Linked DNA regions of Homo sapiens: all the other regions are linked to region 1. The links are contacts of gene promoters, found by promoter capture Hi-C in blood cells and fetal thymus (Javierre and others, 2016). All regions are on one chromosome and are shown on one strand. Each heading gives the region's core, a stretch centred on a gene start or on the middle of the fragment in contact. The rest is flanking DNA. Distances are from core to core; before and after follow the strand shown. Region 1 holds the start of ZNF648 (zinc finger protein 648). Region 2 has its middle 15 kb from the start of LINC00272. Region 3 overlaps RGSL1 (regulator of G protein signaling like 1). Region 4 overlaps RGSL1 (regulator of G protein signaling like 1).

The links. The method cuts DNA at HindIII sites, captures the fragments that hold promoters and counts their contacts. A CHiCAGO score of 5 or more calls a contact.
Region 2: a contact is called between a fragment that was not itself captured here and the fragment with the promoter of ZNF648 in region 1, in 1 of 17 cell types (erythroblasts). The highest score is 6.2, in erythroblasts.
Region 3: a contact is called between a fragment that was not itself captured here and the fragment with the promoter of ZNF648 in region 1, in 1 of 17 cell types (neutrophils). The highest score is 5.2, in neutrophils.
Region 4: a fragment that was not itself captured here is called in contact with the fragment with the promoter of ZNF648 in region 1 in 1 of 17 cell types (neutrophils); the score reaches 6.8 in neutrophils.

What each region holds. Positions count from the first base shown.
Region 1 is chr1:182,060,412-182,063,830 of GRCh38, reverse strand. It overlaps ZNF648 (zinc finger protein 648), which reads left to right and starts at 2,119. Exons shown (of 2, transcript NM_001009992.1): 1 at 2,119-2,263. The HindIII fragment of the contact is 14,548 bases long and covers 1-3,419 here.
Region 2 is chr1:182,420,936-182,424,580 of GRCh38, reverse strand. No RefSeq gene overlaps it. Among named protein-coding and RNA genes, the nearest start is that of LINC00272, 15 kb to the right of the region's middle. The HindIII fragment of the contact is 837 bases long and covers 1,019-1,855 here.
Region 3 is chr1:182,555,951-182,559,849 of GRCh38, reverse strand. RGSL1 (regulator of G protein signaling like 1) reads right to left here. Exons shown (of 22, transcript NM_001137669.2): 21 at 3,628-3,826. The coding sequence ends at 3,793. Among named protein-coding and RNA genes, the nearest start is that of RNASEL, 31 kb to the left of the region's middle. The HindIII fragment of the contact is 2,628 bases long and covers 245-2,872 here.
Region 4 is chr1:182,478,699-182,482,424 of GRCh38, reverse strand. The region is part of intron 6 of RGSL1 (regulator of G protein signaling like 1); the gene reads right to left. Among named protein-coding and RNA genes, the nearest start is that of RGSL1, 30 kb to the right of the region's middle. The HindIII fragment of the contact is 3,594 bases long and covers 165-3,726 here.

The DNA of each region.
Region 1 (3,419 bases), core at 870-3,369:
CTATAAAAACCCTAGAAGAAAATCTAGGCAATAACATTCAGGACATAGGCATAGGAAAAGATTTTATGAAATTGCCAAAAGCAATTGCAACAAAAGCAAAAATTGACAAATGGGATCGAATTAAACTAATGAGCTTCTGCACAGCAAAAGAAACTATCATCAGAGTGAACAGACAACCTATAGAATGGGAGAAAATGTTTTCAATCTATCCATCTGACAAAGGTCTAATATCCAGAATCTACAAGGAACTTAAGCAAATTTACGAAACCCCCCACAAACAACCCCATTAAAAAGTGGGCAAAGAATGTGAATAGACACTTCTCAAAAGAAGACATACATGCAGCCAACAAATACATGAAAAAAGAGCTCAACATTACTGATCATTAGAGAAATGCAAATTAAAACCACAATGAGATACCATCTCATGCCAGTCAGAATGGCGATTATCAAAAAGTCAAGAAACAACAGATGCTGGCGAGGTTGCGAAGAAATAGCAACGTTTTTACGCTGTTGGTGGGAATGTAAATTAGTTCAACCATTGTGGAAGACAGTATAGCGATTCCTCAAAGATTTAGAACCAGAAATACCATTTGATCCACAATCCCATTACTGGGAATATACCCAAAGGAATATAAATAATTCTATTATAAAGATACATGCATGCATATGTTCAATGCCGCACTATTCACAATAGCAGACTTGGAATCAACCCAAATGCCCATCAATGATAGACTGGATAAAGAAAATGTGGTATATATACACCATGGAATACCATGCAGCCATAAAAAGGAACAGGATCATATCCTTTGCAGGGACAGGGATGGAGCTGGAGGCATTATCCTCAGCAAACTGGCAAAGGAACAGAAAACCAAACACCGCATGTTCTCACTTATAAATGGGAGCTGAACAGTGAGAACACATGGACACAGGGAGGGGAACAACACATATTGGGGCCAGTTGGGGGAGTGCGGGGTGGAGAGAGCATCAGGAAAAATAGCTAATGCATGCCGGGCTTAATACCTAGGTGAAGGAAGGGTTGATAGGTGCAGCAAACCAGCATGGCACATGTTTACCTATGTAACAAACCTGCATATCCTGCACATGTATCCCGGAACTTAAAATTTTTAAAAATCGTCAATAATAACAATGAAAGCAGCTAACGTTTTTGGGTACTTGCTATGTTCCAAACACCGAACTAAGCTCCTTACATGCATTATCTCATTTAATACTCCCCAAACTTCCATGATGGCAATAGTATCCTGGTCCCTGTTTTGCAGATGAGACACTAAGGCACACAGAGGTTAAATAACTTGCCCAAGATCACACAGCTAGTAAGTAGTAAGATTCAAACCCAGACCCAGACCGTGCTGTCAATCAGTATACTTTGTGACCACCTAGTGACATCACAGGAACCACACTTCCATCACCTATTTTAATGCCCTGAATGTTCATCCTAATAAATGCACATTAGACTTGAGTGGGTAAAAATTCTGAATGTACTGAGTCTTCTACCTTGGGCCAATCCTTCTCTTCAAAATGAACCTGCATGGGAATCAATGCTGAAAGTGGAAAGAGACCCCAGACAGGCCTGGCATCTGTATGCATAAGACAGAAAACCATCTCCCTGCACCCCTACTCCCAGTTAAAAGGCTGTGGGCATCTTTGAGCCAATGAATGGGCTGCTACAAAGAATTCTGGGAATCCCAACCCCTCACAGTTCTGCAACTCACAGTCCTGCAAAAGGTGGGTACTAGAATAGGGAGGTGGGCATATAGGCCAAATACTCTGTTCTGCCTTCCAGGAGGGAAAAAGCATGCTACCCAGGAAGCTCACAAGTGACATGTGGCCCATGGGCATACCAGGGCTAAAGTGAAGGATGGACTGCTCTGTGGAAGGAAGGAGTGAAAGTGAACAAGAGGCATAGGGCCACCTGCAGGAAGACTGAGAGGAGGGAAGGAGGAAGGCTGGCTTTGGCAGGGAGGGGAGGCAGGAGCAGAGGGAGCCAGAGGATCGGTTCAGGCAGTGAGAGAGGGCAGCCCCACTCTATTTCCCAGGCTGCTCTCTGGATGCAGGCAGGAAGGTTGAGTGTATTACACTGGCCCCACCTCCAGAGGCTCTCTCTGCAGCCGCTGGACTGGACACAAAGCGTGAGAGACAGAGACACCATCTCTGCTGATTTGTACCTAACTGGTTCCTGTTGCTGAGAGCCCACGTGTCACAGAAGCCAGGGCAGAGGCCCCACACTGCTGTCTGCATTTCCCAGGTAAGCAACCGTCTGTGTGTGAGCCAGGAGTGGAGAGCAAGGCCTGAAGGCGGTGAGCAGAGAAGAAAGTAGGAGGCGGCTGCCTAGGATGGACTTCAGTACAATCTGGAAAGAATGAAGGAAAGAAGAGGGGTATGGGCTGGGGTTGCAACAAGCCCTTAGGGTAGGCTTCTGCAGAGTGTTGATGGATGTATGAGGTTGGGGAGTCAAAGGCTGCATTTGGTCCACTCTTGGCTGGCAAGTGCAGAGGAAGTTCCAGCAAAGGACTGCTCTGACAGCCTCTGGGGACTAGCACATCTGGGGAGCAGAGAGGCCCGCCATACCATGGCATCAGTGTTCCTCTTTCAGACCAGGTATATTTGTGCAGACTTTGCCAGAAAATCCCTCCCTGTGCCCCTGCCTGCCTCCAGGTCTTCCTGGTGGTCGAGAGCATGCGTGTGGCAGCGACAGGAGGAAGAAAGCAGGACATATTCACTGGGGATATGGCTTCAGATGGAGGAGGGATACCTCATCTGAAAAGAGAGTCTCCTGACGGGCTCTGGAGAGGAGATTGGTTAGCTAGTGGAGGGCTGTGTGCCACCCTAAGGAGGCTCCCCTGTGGCCCAGAGGAAAAGAATGACACACAGACTGTGGAAAATGGGGTATTTGTGCTGGAGGTGGGGTGGGGAGCGGGTAAAGTCAGTGATCTGTGAACAGTGCCACAGAAACAGGCAGTATGTTGTCGTAAAGAGGGAAAGAGACCTAAGACATGTGTTTCATACAAATCCAGCATCCCTTTGCTGTCCCTGCTGGGGGACCTACAGCCCCGGATCAAGCCTGCTGGTCTGAGCAAGTTCTATGAGGTTGGCTAGTGGTATGTCCCCTCTATGAACTACACATTCACTCCCTAAGATCCACTATGCTGAAAATATGTCAGATCTGGGCTCCTGTCAAAAGGCATGCCAGCTACCCTCTGCCATGTGATGGGTGAGGGAAGCAGTGAGAGAAGAGGAGTGGTCCCTGGGCTTTAGGGCACAAAGAGACGTGAGATGCTGAATTCCAGTCACAACTGCAATGTGTCCTCCCTCCATCCATGGCTTCTGTATCCAGAGCAGAAAGTGAGGATTCCTCCATACTGCTCCCTCTTCATACACACAGGGTAACTGGGCTCATGATC
Region 2 (3,645 bases), core at 188-2,687, 360 kb before region 1:
ACATTGATTCTAGCTGAAGTTTTTAAGGGTAATCTTTTGTTCTTTTTTTTTTTTTTTTTTTTTTTTGAGACAGAGTCTTGCTCTGTCGCCTAGGCTGGAATGCAGTGGTGTGATCTTGGCAAACTGCAAACTCTGCCTCCCAGGTTCAGCGATTCTCCTGCCTCAGCCTCCCCAGTAGCTGCAATTACAGGTGCACACCACCACACCCAGCTAATTTAGTAGAGATGGAGTTTCACCATGTTGGCCAGGCTGGTCTCCATTCCTGACCTCAGGTGATCCGCCTGCCTCAGCCTCCCAAAGTGCTGGGATTACAGGCATGAACCACTGTGCCTGGCCTGTCCTTTTTTGAACATTCTCTATATTTTGAATACTTGAAGTTTCTTATATATGATTTTTTAAAAGATAGTGGAGTGCAACTGAATGTGGATTCTCAATGATTCCACGATAACACCTAATTCCATGCACAAAAGTGTCAATCTGGGCACCCTTTCACATTTCCTTCTTGTGTGACATCGAATATTGCCCTGTCCTCTCCTCTCTAAGCATTCATGCTGGCAGCACATTGTAATGAAAAAATTGGCTTTCAAAGTTGGGCCATCCAGTTGAATTCCTAATTTTTCTCGCTACATAAACTTGGAAAGTCACATAGCTACTCTGAACCTCAGAAATCATCATCTATTTTAAAAGACTGATAATTGTACTTAGTCACTAGGGGGCTGTCAAAATTGAGAATAATAATGCTAGTAAGAGTATTTTCTAAAAATATTATCATTATCCAAGGCAACATTTTCACATGTCCATGTTTTATCTATTTTATTCTTTCTTTTTTATCTATTTATCTATTTTATTCTTTAAGCTTTTAGTGCTCCTTTGCCAAGGTTTATTGTGAGTTACTCTGTGACAGATGCTAAGTTAGGTTTTATATGTTTTTTATCATTCAATCTCACAAAAAATCCTAATTTATGTTAATAATAATGCCAGTTAGTATCTTCATTTTGAGAATGAGGAAACTGAAGCTTAGAAAGCCTAAGTAATTAACCCAAAGTTCATGCAGTTAATACACGTTACAGTCAGGGTTTAAGTTCAGGCAGACCAAGTCCAGACCCCAGCCCCAAGTCTCCACACAATGACAGAATTCAGATATCTTGGCTTGGGGTGTTGGGGCTGGGGATCAGGGAAATAGAAGAGGTGATTTAGGGGATGAAATTTGCAAAGGCCCCTCCGATCACACCCCAGAGGCAGTCCTGGCTGCTGGTTCCCATAGTTAACCTTCAGAGTTCCACTTTGAAGAAATTCAAACTCCATTCTAGAAGGAGGTGTCAGACTTTCTTCCCTCATAGGGCACAGTGGGCTTCTATGCCTGCCCATATGGAGCTGACACTGCAGCTTCTCCATGGCAGAATGAAACAAGCAAGGCCATAGCACTCAGGGAAATATATCTGATGTCTAGATAATCCCAGCCAGGGCCTAAGACCTCTTCACAGCCCAGCTACTAACCAGCCTTCAGATTTTTTATTTGCAATAAGAATTTGTAGCTTTAGATATTTCATTCCAAGTCAAACAGGTTTATTTGAAAAGAAAAGTAAAAAACAGTTAATAATCCAATAGAAAGCTATAGTTTTGAGCTACTGATAGAGCCAAAACTCACCAGTTTACAAATATTGTCTTTGCCTACTTGTTCCCTCTGCCCATGCAGCTGCCCAGCCTCTCAGTATCAAAAGCCCCAAGATCAAAGTAGGCTTTATTCCTGGAATGCAAGATTGGTTAAACACACAAATCAATAAATGTGATTCACCACATAACGAGAATTAAAAACAAAATCCATATGATCATCTCAATAGATGCACAAAAAGCTTTCAATAAAATCCAACATTACTTCATGATTAAAAACCCTTAACAAAGTAGGCATTGAAGAAACATATCTCAAAATAATAAGAGCTGTCTATGACAAACCCACAGCCAACACCATACTGAATGGGCAAAAACTGGAAGCATTCCCTTTGAGAAGAAGAACAAGACAACGATGCCCACTCTCATTGCTACTATTCAACATAGTAATGGAAGTCCCAGCCACAGCAATCAGGCAAGAGACAGAAATAAAAGACATTCAAATAGGTAAAGAAGAAGTCAAATTATGTCTCTTCACTGATGATATGAATCTATACCTAGAAAACACTAAAGGCTTTGCCAAAAGGCTCCTAGAACTAATCAAGTTAGTAAAGTTTCAAGGTATAAAATTAGTGTAAAAAATCAGTAGCATTTCTACTTACCAATAATAATCAAGCTGATAGTCAAATCAAGAAAACAATTCCATTTACAATATCTACATACACAAAAAATACCTAGGAATACATCTAACCAAGGAGGTGAAAGATCTCTACAAGAACTACAAAACACTGCTGAAAGAAATCATAGATGACACAAACAAATGGAAAAACGTTCCATGCTCATGAATTGGAATAATCAATATTATTAAGATGGTCATAGCAATCTACAGATTCCAATACTATTTCTATCAAACTACCAATGTCATTTTCCACAGAATTAGAAAAAAATTCAGCCAGGCACAATGGCTCATGCCTGTAATCCCAGCACTTTCAGAGGCTGAGGCAAGAGGGTTGCTTGAGGCCAGTAGTTCAAGACCAGTGTGGGCAACATAGTAAGACTTCATCTCTATTAAAAAAAATTTTTTTTTTTTTGAGACAAAGTTTCACTCTTGTTGTCCAGGCTGGAGTGCAATGGCATGATCTCGGCTCACTGCAACCTCTGCCTCCTGGGTTCAAGCAATTCTACTGCCTCAGCCTCCTGAATAGTTGGGATTACAGGCACCCGCCACCACGCCCAACTAATTTTTTGTATTTTTAGTAGAGGCGGGGGTTCATCATGTTAGTCAGGCTGGTCTTGAACTCCTGACCTCAGATGATCCACCTGCCTCAGCCTCTCAAAGTGCTGGGATTACAGGCTTACAGGCGTGAGCCACCACGCCCAGCTATTAAAATTTTTAAAAATGAAAAAGGTATTCTAAAATCATATGTAACAAAAAAGAACTCAAATAGCCGAAGCAAAATGAACAAAGCTGGAGGTATCACATTACCTGACTTAAAGTTATACTATAAGGCTACAGTAACCAAAACAGACACATAGACCAATGGAACAGAATAGAGAACCGAGGAATAAAGCCACACAGCTGCAATCATCTGACTTTAACAAAGTTGGCAAAAATAAGCAATGGGAAAAGGACTTCTTATTTAATAAATGGTGCTGGGATAGCTGGCTAGCCATATGCAGATGAATGAGACTGGACCCCTACCTTTCACCATATACAAAAATTAACTCAAGATGGCTTAAAGATTTAGATGTAAGACCTCAAACTATAAAAGTCCCAGAAAAAAACCTAGGAAATACAATTCTGGATATTGGCCTTGGCAAAGAATTCCTGACTGAGTCCTCAAAAGCAATGGCAACAAAATCAAAAATTGATAAATGAGACCTAATTAAAGAGCTCCGCACAGCAGAATAAACTATCAACACAGTAAACAGGCAACCTAAAAGATGGGAGAAAATATTTATAAACTATGCATCCAACAAAGGTCTAATATCCAGAATCTATGAGGAAGTTGAACAATTCAACAAGCAGGCTGGGCA
Region 3 (3,899 bases), core at 309-2,808, 500 kb before region 1:
AAGAGGAGAGAGTAAGAGGAGAAAGGGGAATCAGGAGGTATCACAGTGTGATGTCTGTGTGATGGAGAAGAAAGGGAAGGGCCCTTTAGGCAATCACCAAGTTGCTGGAGAATGGTGTGTATGAGATAGAGAGAGGAAAAAGATAAACCTGGAAACCTGAACTGAGGCCATATTAGCAATGGCCTTGTATGTCCCACAAAGGAGTGAGACTTTTCCAACCAGGTGAAGGAGGGGAATAAAAGCTTTCACGCTGAGGAAATGAGCAGGTCAGATTTGTTCTCAGTGTGTGGGATGAAGCAGAGTGTGTTGGGTGTGTGTGGAGAGGGGAATGTGGTGACTTCACAGGGCCAGTGATGGGGACAAGGGCCCGACAAAAGCAGTGCCAGTGGGATAGAGAGGAAGGTCTGGATAGCAGCGACATGTCCAAGGCAGAGTGGCAGAACTTCCCTTTCCTGCATGTAAAATATGGGAGGGGAGGCAGAGGAATGAGTTGAGGATGATTCTGAGTTTTCTAGCTTGGAAGATGGGGTTGATTGGAGAAAAGAAATAAAGGGGCCAAAACTGATTTGGGATACATTAAATTTGTGCTGTGGATCCTGTTAGAATGGATTAAATTTGCAGTGGATCCTATTAGAGGAGAAGCTAGGGGCTAGGGATCTCAAGCAAATGGGAGAGTGCGTTGTAAGAAGGTAAGTTCAACAGGAGAGCCACAGGGAGCACTGATATTTAAGGAAGAAGCAGAAGAAATGTGAAGAAGAATCAGAAAGAATAGTCAGAGCTATGACAAGAGAAAGAAAAAAATGGTGTTCCCAAGTCTCTAGGAGGCAATAATCGCATCAGAGGCCCAGATTGTGCGTTCATACATTCTTCTCTAAGGAAGGTGGTCTAGGACCATGGTCGGTAGAATTTCTGGTGACCACCCTAGGATATCCATGCTCTAAACTCTAGAATCTGTGAATGTGTGACCTTACATAGCAAAAGGAATTTGGTGGGTGGAATTAAGGCTAAGGACCTTAAAACAGAGACATTATTCTGGATTGTCTGGGTGGGCCCTTAAAAGGGAGTTGGGAGGCAGAAGAGGGAACCAGAGAGATGTGATGATAGAAGAAGAGGCAGGAGAAATTCAAAGAACGGGCAGGACTTGACCCACCATTGCTGGATTTAAAGACAGAGGAAGAAGGCCATGAGCCAAGGAATGCAGGTGGCTTCTCAGAAACTGGGAACGGCTCTCAGCTGACAGCCAGGAAGGAAGTGAGACCTCCATCCTGTACCTACAATGACTGAATTCTGCCAATAACCTGAATGAACCAGGAAACAGATCCTCCCCAACAGCCTCCAGAGGGGAACACAGCCTTCCTGACACCCTGATGTTAGCTTGAGTCCCAGGTCAGACTTCTGACCTACAGACTTGTAAAATAATAATTTGTGTTGTTTTAAGCCACTAAGTTTCTGGTAACTTGTTATGGTAGCAAAAGGAAACTAACACAGGAACTGAAGTAGGCCAGGTTCCTTACCTGGTCCCTCTTTCTTGGCCTTTTCCTTAGACGGCAGTGGCCCCTGGATCTAGTGTTGGGACGCCTTTTCCTCCCCTCCCATATTTTTTATTCAAACTAGACCCAAGACCCAAATCTAATTTCAAGGGCAAAGAAAAATATTAAAGCAAGGAATGCAATTTGTTGGGCTGTGGGTCAGTCTTGTCCCTAACTAAGTTTTGTTTTAACTGTAATGTTACAGACATTTTTAATTTCTCACTTTTTTCCTTCCTTCCCTCCTTCCTTCCTTCCTTCCTTCCTTCTTTTTATTCCTAAGTAGAAGCTCTGGCAACACCAGGTTGGCTGGCTTGAGCGGACTGTCTCTGACCCCTTTGGGACACGTTCTCCAGTTCACCACAGTCTCTACCACTCCTTCTTATCTCTCATGGACTGCGTTACTCATTTATACACCCTGCCTGTATTCTACAGGTGACTGACTTAGTGACACTAGACTAACTGGCATTAGAACATGTTAGATCTGGGATCTTTGAAGGGAGCATGTAAGAAACCGAAAGAAGCAATCAACAAAACTTAACAAAAGAGAAGATTTTTTTTTCCAACTCAGGGAAGACCTAATAAGTATCATTAATCCTTTTAAATAACATGTTTGTGTGTTTGCATACCTACACATGAGTATAACCATGGTGAATGTGGAGAGAAAGATAATTAAGAAATAGGAAGATGGGGCAAAGATCTAAGTTCAAATAGATCAGGAAAAGTACCTTTCTTTTCCTTAAGTGTGGCCCATCTATTGCCAACATGCAGGTTCACCCATGTCCCACTCCAATGTGAGTGTATTTCAGTATGTGACCACGAGTTAGTATTTTGCTAGATCCTTGTCAGTCACCTTGTTGCTGGCCTAACATCCTCTCTAGTTTCATGCCTGGGGCTTGTGACTTGTTCTTTTTTGATGAAATGCTTCCCTGTTACCTCAATTCCACTAACTGAGCTCTTCTTTATTCCTTACCTGGGGTCTTGCCTTAGTTTTTGCCTGATTTTTAGGAACTGGGATTCTGTTTCATGCCCACTCTTCATTCTATTAATTGCAGTCCTGTTCTAAAGCTCTAGCCCTGATAGGGAAGGGAAGACTCATGCCCTTTTGTCTAGGCCTTCCTGTCTTGCTGGGCCTTCTCCCAGGGGCCCAAGGGGCTCTCCACACCTGGCCTTTTTTCAGCCTCCTCTAGAGTCATGTCTGCCCACAGTCTTCCTGGATCTCCTGCAATCACAGCCCCACCAGGTGACCTCAGAGTCTCAGGTGTTCATGAGTTCTGCTCCAACATCACCTTTTTCATCCTTGTGAAAAGTCTGGGAAATAAAAAACTTCGGCACAGCAGGAAGCTTTGGCCAGAAATTTGAAAGTATTCTCCAAAAAGCTTTCCAGTCCTTTCCTATTCTGTAACCCACAGAGATGACAAGCCAACCTGTCCTCAGTTACCTCAGGTGGAGGGCTTGTTCAGGAAATTCTGACTCATTTTACTTCTGATTTTTTTTTTCTCAAAGGAGAGAAAATAGGCCTATTCATTTAAAATTATGACAATAGTTTAGGGCTTTAGGTCAAAAACCTTAAAGTTTTTTTATCCACTAGTTGGCAAATGAACAGAACTCTCGGGAAGAACTATTCCTTTTGTGCATGAAAAGTTACATAAAAGGTTGGCATAGAACAAGAACAGGACAAAAAATCAGAAATGGTGTGTTCTAGTCCAGATGCTGCCATTTACTGCCCAGTAATCTTAGGAGAGTCACTTACCTTCTCTGTGAGTCAGATTCTTTAACTGTTTAAAAATAAATGAATTCTGACATGGTTGCCCACAGGGTTGTTGTGAGGACTTACTGAGACAATGGGTGTGAGTCATTGTCTAAATGAGAGATCCTACCATTAAAAGACACCATCTGTCCTTGCTGATAATTATAGCACCTTGCTCCTGATTGCCTTCAGTGATCTTTACATCCATTTGTCATGGGATTCTTTAACAACCTGAGCCAGGATTTGCACACAGCCAGGAAGATGTGGAGCAAGACCTAGAGCCCAGGTCTCCTGACCCAACTCACTGTAGTGGAAAGATGCGCTTCCTCTCATGCTCTGCCCAAGTCTTACCCATTGCAGTCTGGTCCTGCCATATCTGGGCTGTCAACCCATTGCCCTTCTTGATCGTTTCTGGGGAAGATGGTACCAGGACCTTTCATTTTTGACCAGAAAAGTTTCTGTCAGTGTTAGGAGGCCTCTAAGAGATGATTTATCTCTGCTGGGGGTCTCGCTTGATTACTTCTCTTTTTTGATGTAGGATAATTTTTGTCTGAAGGGAGAGAAAACAGCCAGTTATCACAATTATGATGCAGTAATTGAGGTTGCATTCTCTGTTGGTTTGT
Region 4 (3,726 bases), core at 712-3,211, 420 kb before region 1:
GGATGCTTTTTTTTATTTTTTATTTTTCTTGTCTACTTTCTCTGGCTAGGACTTCCAGTATTTTGTTGATGAGGAGGGGCAAGAATGAGGATCCTTAGCTTGTTCTGGATGTTAGAGGGAATGATTTCAGCTTCTCGCCATTGAGTATGATGTTGCAGCAAGCTTTTCATAAATGGCCTTTATTGTGTGGGAGTACCTTCCTTCTATATGTAATTTTTGAGAGTTTTTGTCATGAAAATATTTTGAACTTTGTCAAGTAATTTTTCTGCATCTGTTGAGCTGATCATGTGATTTTTACCTCTAATTCTGTTAATGAGTTGCATCACAGTGATTGATTTGCATAGGTCAAGCCATCCTTATAACCCAGGGATAAATCCTACCTGGTAATTGTGTATAATTCTTTTAATAGGCTGTTGTATTTGGTTTGCTAGTATTTTTTTCTTTTCTTTTTAAAGACAGTATCTTGCCTGTCACCAGGCTGGCATGCAGTGTCACGAACATGGCTCACTGCAGCTTCAAATTCTTCCAGAAATCCTCCCTTCTCAGCATCCCAAGTAGCTAGGACCACAGGCACACGCCACCATGCCAAGATAATATTTTTATCTTTTATAAACACAGAGTTTTGTCATGTTGCCTAGGCTGGTCTTGAACTCCTGGGCTCAAGCAATCCCACTTCAGCCTCGCAAAGTGCTGGGGTTACAGGCATGAACCACTGCACCTGGCCATGCTCGTATTTTCTTGTGAATATTTGCATCTGTTTTCCTCAGGGATATTGACCCGTGGTTTACTTTTCTTCTTGTGTCTTTGTCTGGCTTTGGTGTCAGAGTTCTAGCCTCATAAATTACTTTGAAAGTGTTCTCTCTCCTTATACTTTTGGGAAGAGTTTAAGAAGGATTGGTATTAATTATTAAAATATTTGATGGAATTCACCAGTGACGCCATCTTGTCCCTGGTTTTTCTCTTTTGGGAAGTTTATTATTACTTCTTCAGTCTCTTTTACTGTTATTGGTCTGTTCAGGCTTTCAATTTCTTCTCGACTTAGTCATGGTAAGTTGTATGTTTCTAGAAATTTATTTCTTGTAGGTTGTCCAATTTGTTGGTGTATAATTATTAATAATAGTCTCATTATCCTTTTTATTTCTGTGAGAATAAATTGTAACATCTTTTCTTTCATTTATAATTTTATTTATTTGAAACTTCTCTCTCTTTTTTTTAAGCCTAGCTAAGGATTTGTTGGTTTCATTTATTGCTTAAGAAAACAAACTTAGTTTTATGTTTTTAAAAATTGATTTTCTATTCTCCATTTCATTTATTTCTTCTCTAATCTTCATCCTCTTCTTCCTTCTGATAAGTTTAGGTTTAGTTCTTCTTTTTCTGGTTCTGTGAGGTGTAAAGTTAGGTGGTTTATTTGAGATTTTTCTTTTTTAATGTAGGCATTTATTGCTATAAACATCCATCTTAGTACTGCTTTTGCTGCATCCCATAAGTTTTGGTATGTTATTTTTATTTTCATTTGTCTCAAGTATTTTCAAATGCCCTTTTTGATTTTTTTTGAGCTACTAGTTGTTTAAAAGTGTGTTGTTTAATTCTGTGTATTTATAAATTTTCCCATTTTCTATTCTTGATTTCTAGTTTCACTCCATTGCACTTGATAAAAAAAAATACTTGTGGCCAAGCGTGGTGGCTCACGCCTGTAATCCCAGCACTTTGGGAGGCTGAGGCAGGTGGATCGCCTGAGGTCGGGAGTTTGAGACCAGCTTGGCCAATGTGGTGAAACCCCGTCTCTAAGAAAAATGCAAAAATTAGGTGGGCATGGTGGTGGGCGCCTGTAATTCCAGCTACTCAGGAGGCTAAGGTAGAGGAATTGCTTGAAGTCAGGAGACAGAAGTTGCAGTGAGCCAAGATTGCGCCACTGCACTCCAGCCTGGGTGACAGAGCGTGACTCTGTCAAAAAAAAAAAAAAACTTGTAATGTTATTTCATTTTATTATTTTAGAGACAGGGTTTCATTCTTTCACCCAGGCTGGATTGAAGTAGTATGATCACAGGTCACTGTAACCTTGAACTCCTGGGCTTAAGTGATCCTCCTACCTCAGCCTCCCAAGCAGTTAGGACTACAAACATGTGCCACCACGTCTGGCTATGGAATATTTTTAATCTTAAATTTGTTAAGACCTTTTTGTGACTTAGCACATGATCTATTCTGGAGAATATTCATGTGCACCTGGGATGAATAATTATTCTGTTGCTGTTGAGTAGAAAGTTCTGTATATGACTGTTAGGTCCAGTTGCTTTATGAGGTTGGTCAGTTCTGCTCTTTCTTTGTTCATTTTCTGTCCGTATGATGTATCCATTATGAAGAGTGGGGTATTGAAGTCTTCTATTAAAGCAACACAATAATAATAGAAGATTAAGTTCTTCCTTCAGATCTGTCAATGTTTGCTTTATATATTTAGGTGATGATGTTGGGTGCGTATGTATTTATAATTGTTACAGCTTCCTATTAAATTGACCCTTTTATCATTGTATAATAACTTCCATTGGCTTTTGTGACAGCTTTTGACTTAAATTCTATCTTATCTGATTTAGTATAGCCAAATATGCTTTTTTGGGTTACCACTTGCATAAAATATCTTTCTTCAACCTTTCACTTTCAGCCTATCTGTGTTCTTAAATCTATCATGAGTCTTTTGTATCTTTGGGTCTTGTGTTTTTATACATTCATCTACTCAATGTCTTTTGATTGCAGAGTTAAGACGATTTACATTTAAAGTAATTATCGTTAGGTAAAGACTGTTGCCATTTTGTTAATTGTTTTCTGTTTTGTAGCTCTCTTCTTCCCTCTCTTTCTCTATTGCTGTCCTTCCTTTGTGATTTGATTGTTTTTTGTAGTGATATACTTTATTTTCTTTTTATCTTTTAGGTATCTACTATACATTTTTTGTGGTTACCATGAACCTTGCATTAAACATTTTATAGTCATAAATCTGTTTTAAGCTGATAACAACTTAACTTAAATTGCTTTAAGCTGATAACTTCAATTGCATACAAAATTCTGCACTTTTCTTCCTACTTGCCATAGTTTACATATTTGATGTCAGCTTTTATTTTTTCTATATTGTGTTTTCATTAACTAATTTCGGTGGTTATAATTATTCTTACAACTTTGTCTTAATTTACACACTAGTGTTCAAAGTGATTTATATACCTTTATCACAATATTACAGTATTATGTGTTTGTCCTTATATTTACCTTTAGCAGTGAGATTTATACTTTCACATGCTTTTGTATTGTTATTTAGCATCTTTTCATTTCACCTTATTCTTGAAGTTCCTTTAGCACTTTTTGTAAGGCAGGTCTAGTGGTGACAAACTCATATTTTGTTTGGGAAAGATTTTTTTTAAACACTTCTTCACTCTCAAAGGATAATTTTTCTGGGTAAAGAATTCTCAATTGCCAGTTTTCCTTTTCTTTCCTTCAGCATATTGAATATATCATCCCACTCTCTCCTGGACTACAAGGTTTCTGTTGAGAAATCTGCTGATAGCCTTTTTGAGCCTCCCTTTTATATTACAAGTCACGTTTCCCATTCTTCTTTCAAAATTCTTTGTCTTTGACTTTTAATAATTTATCATATGTCTGAGTATGAAACTCTTTAGGTTCAGCCTATTTGGAGATCTTTGAGTTTCAGAAATCTAGGTATCCATTTCTCTCCCTAGATTTGTG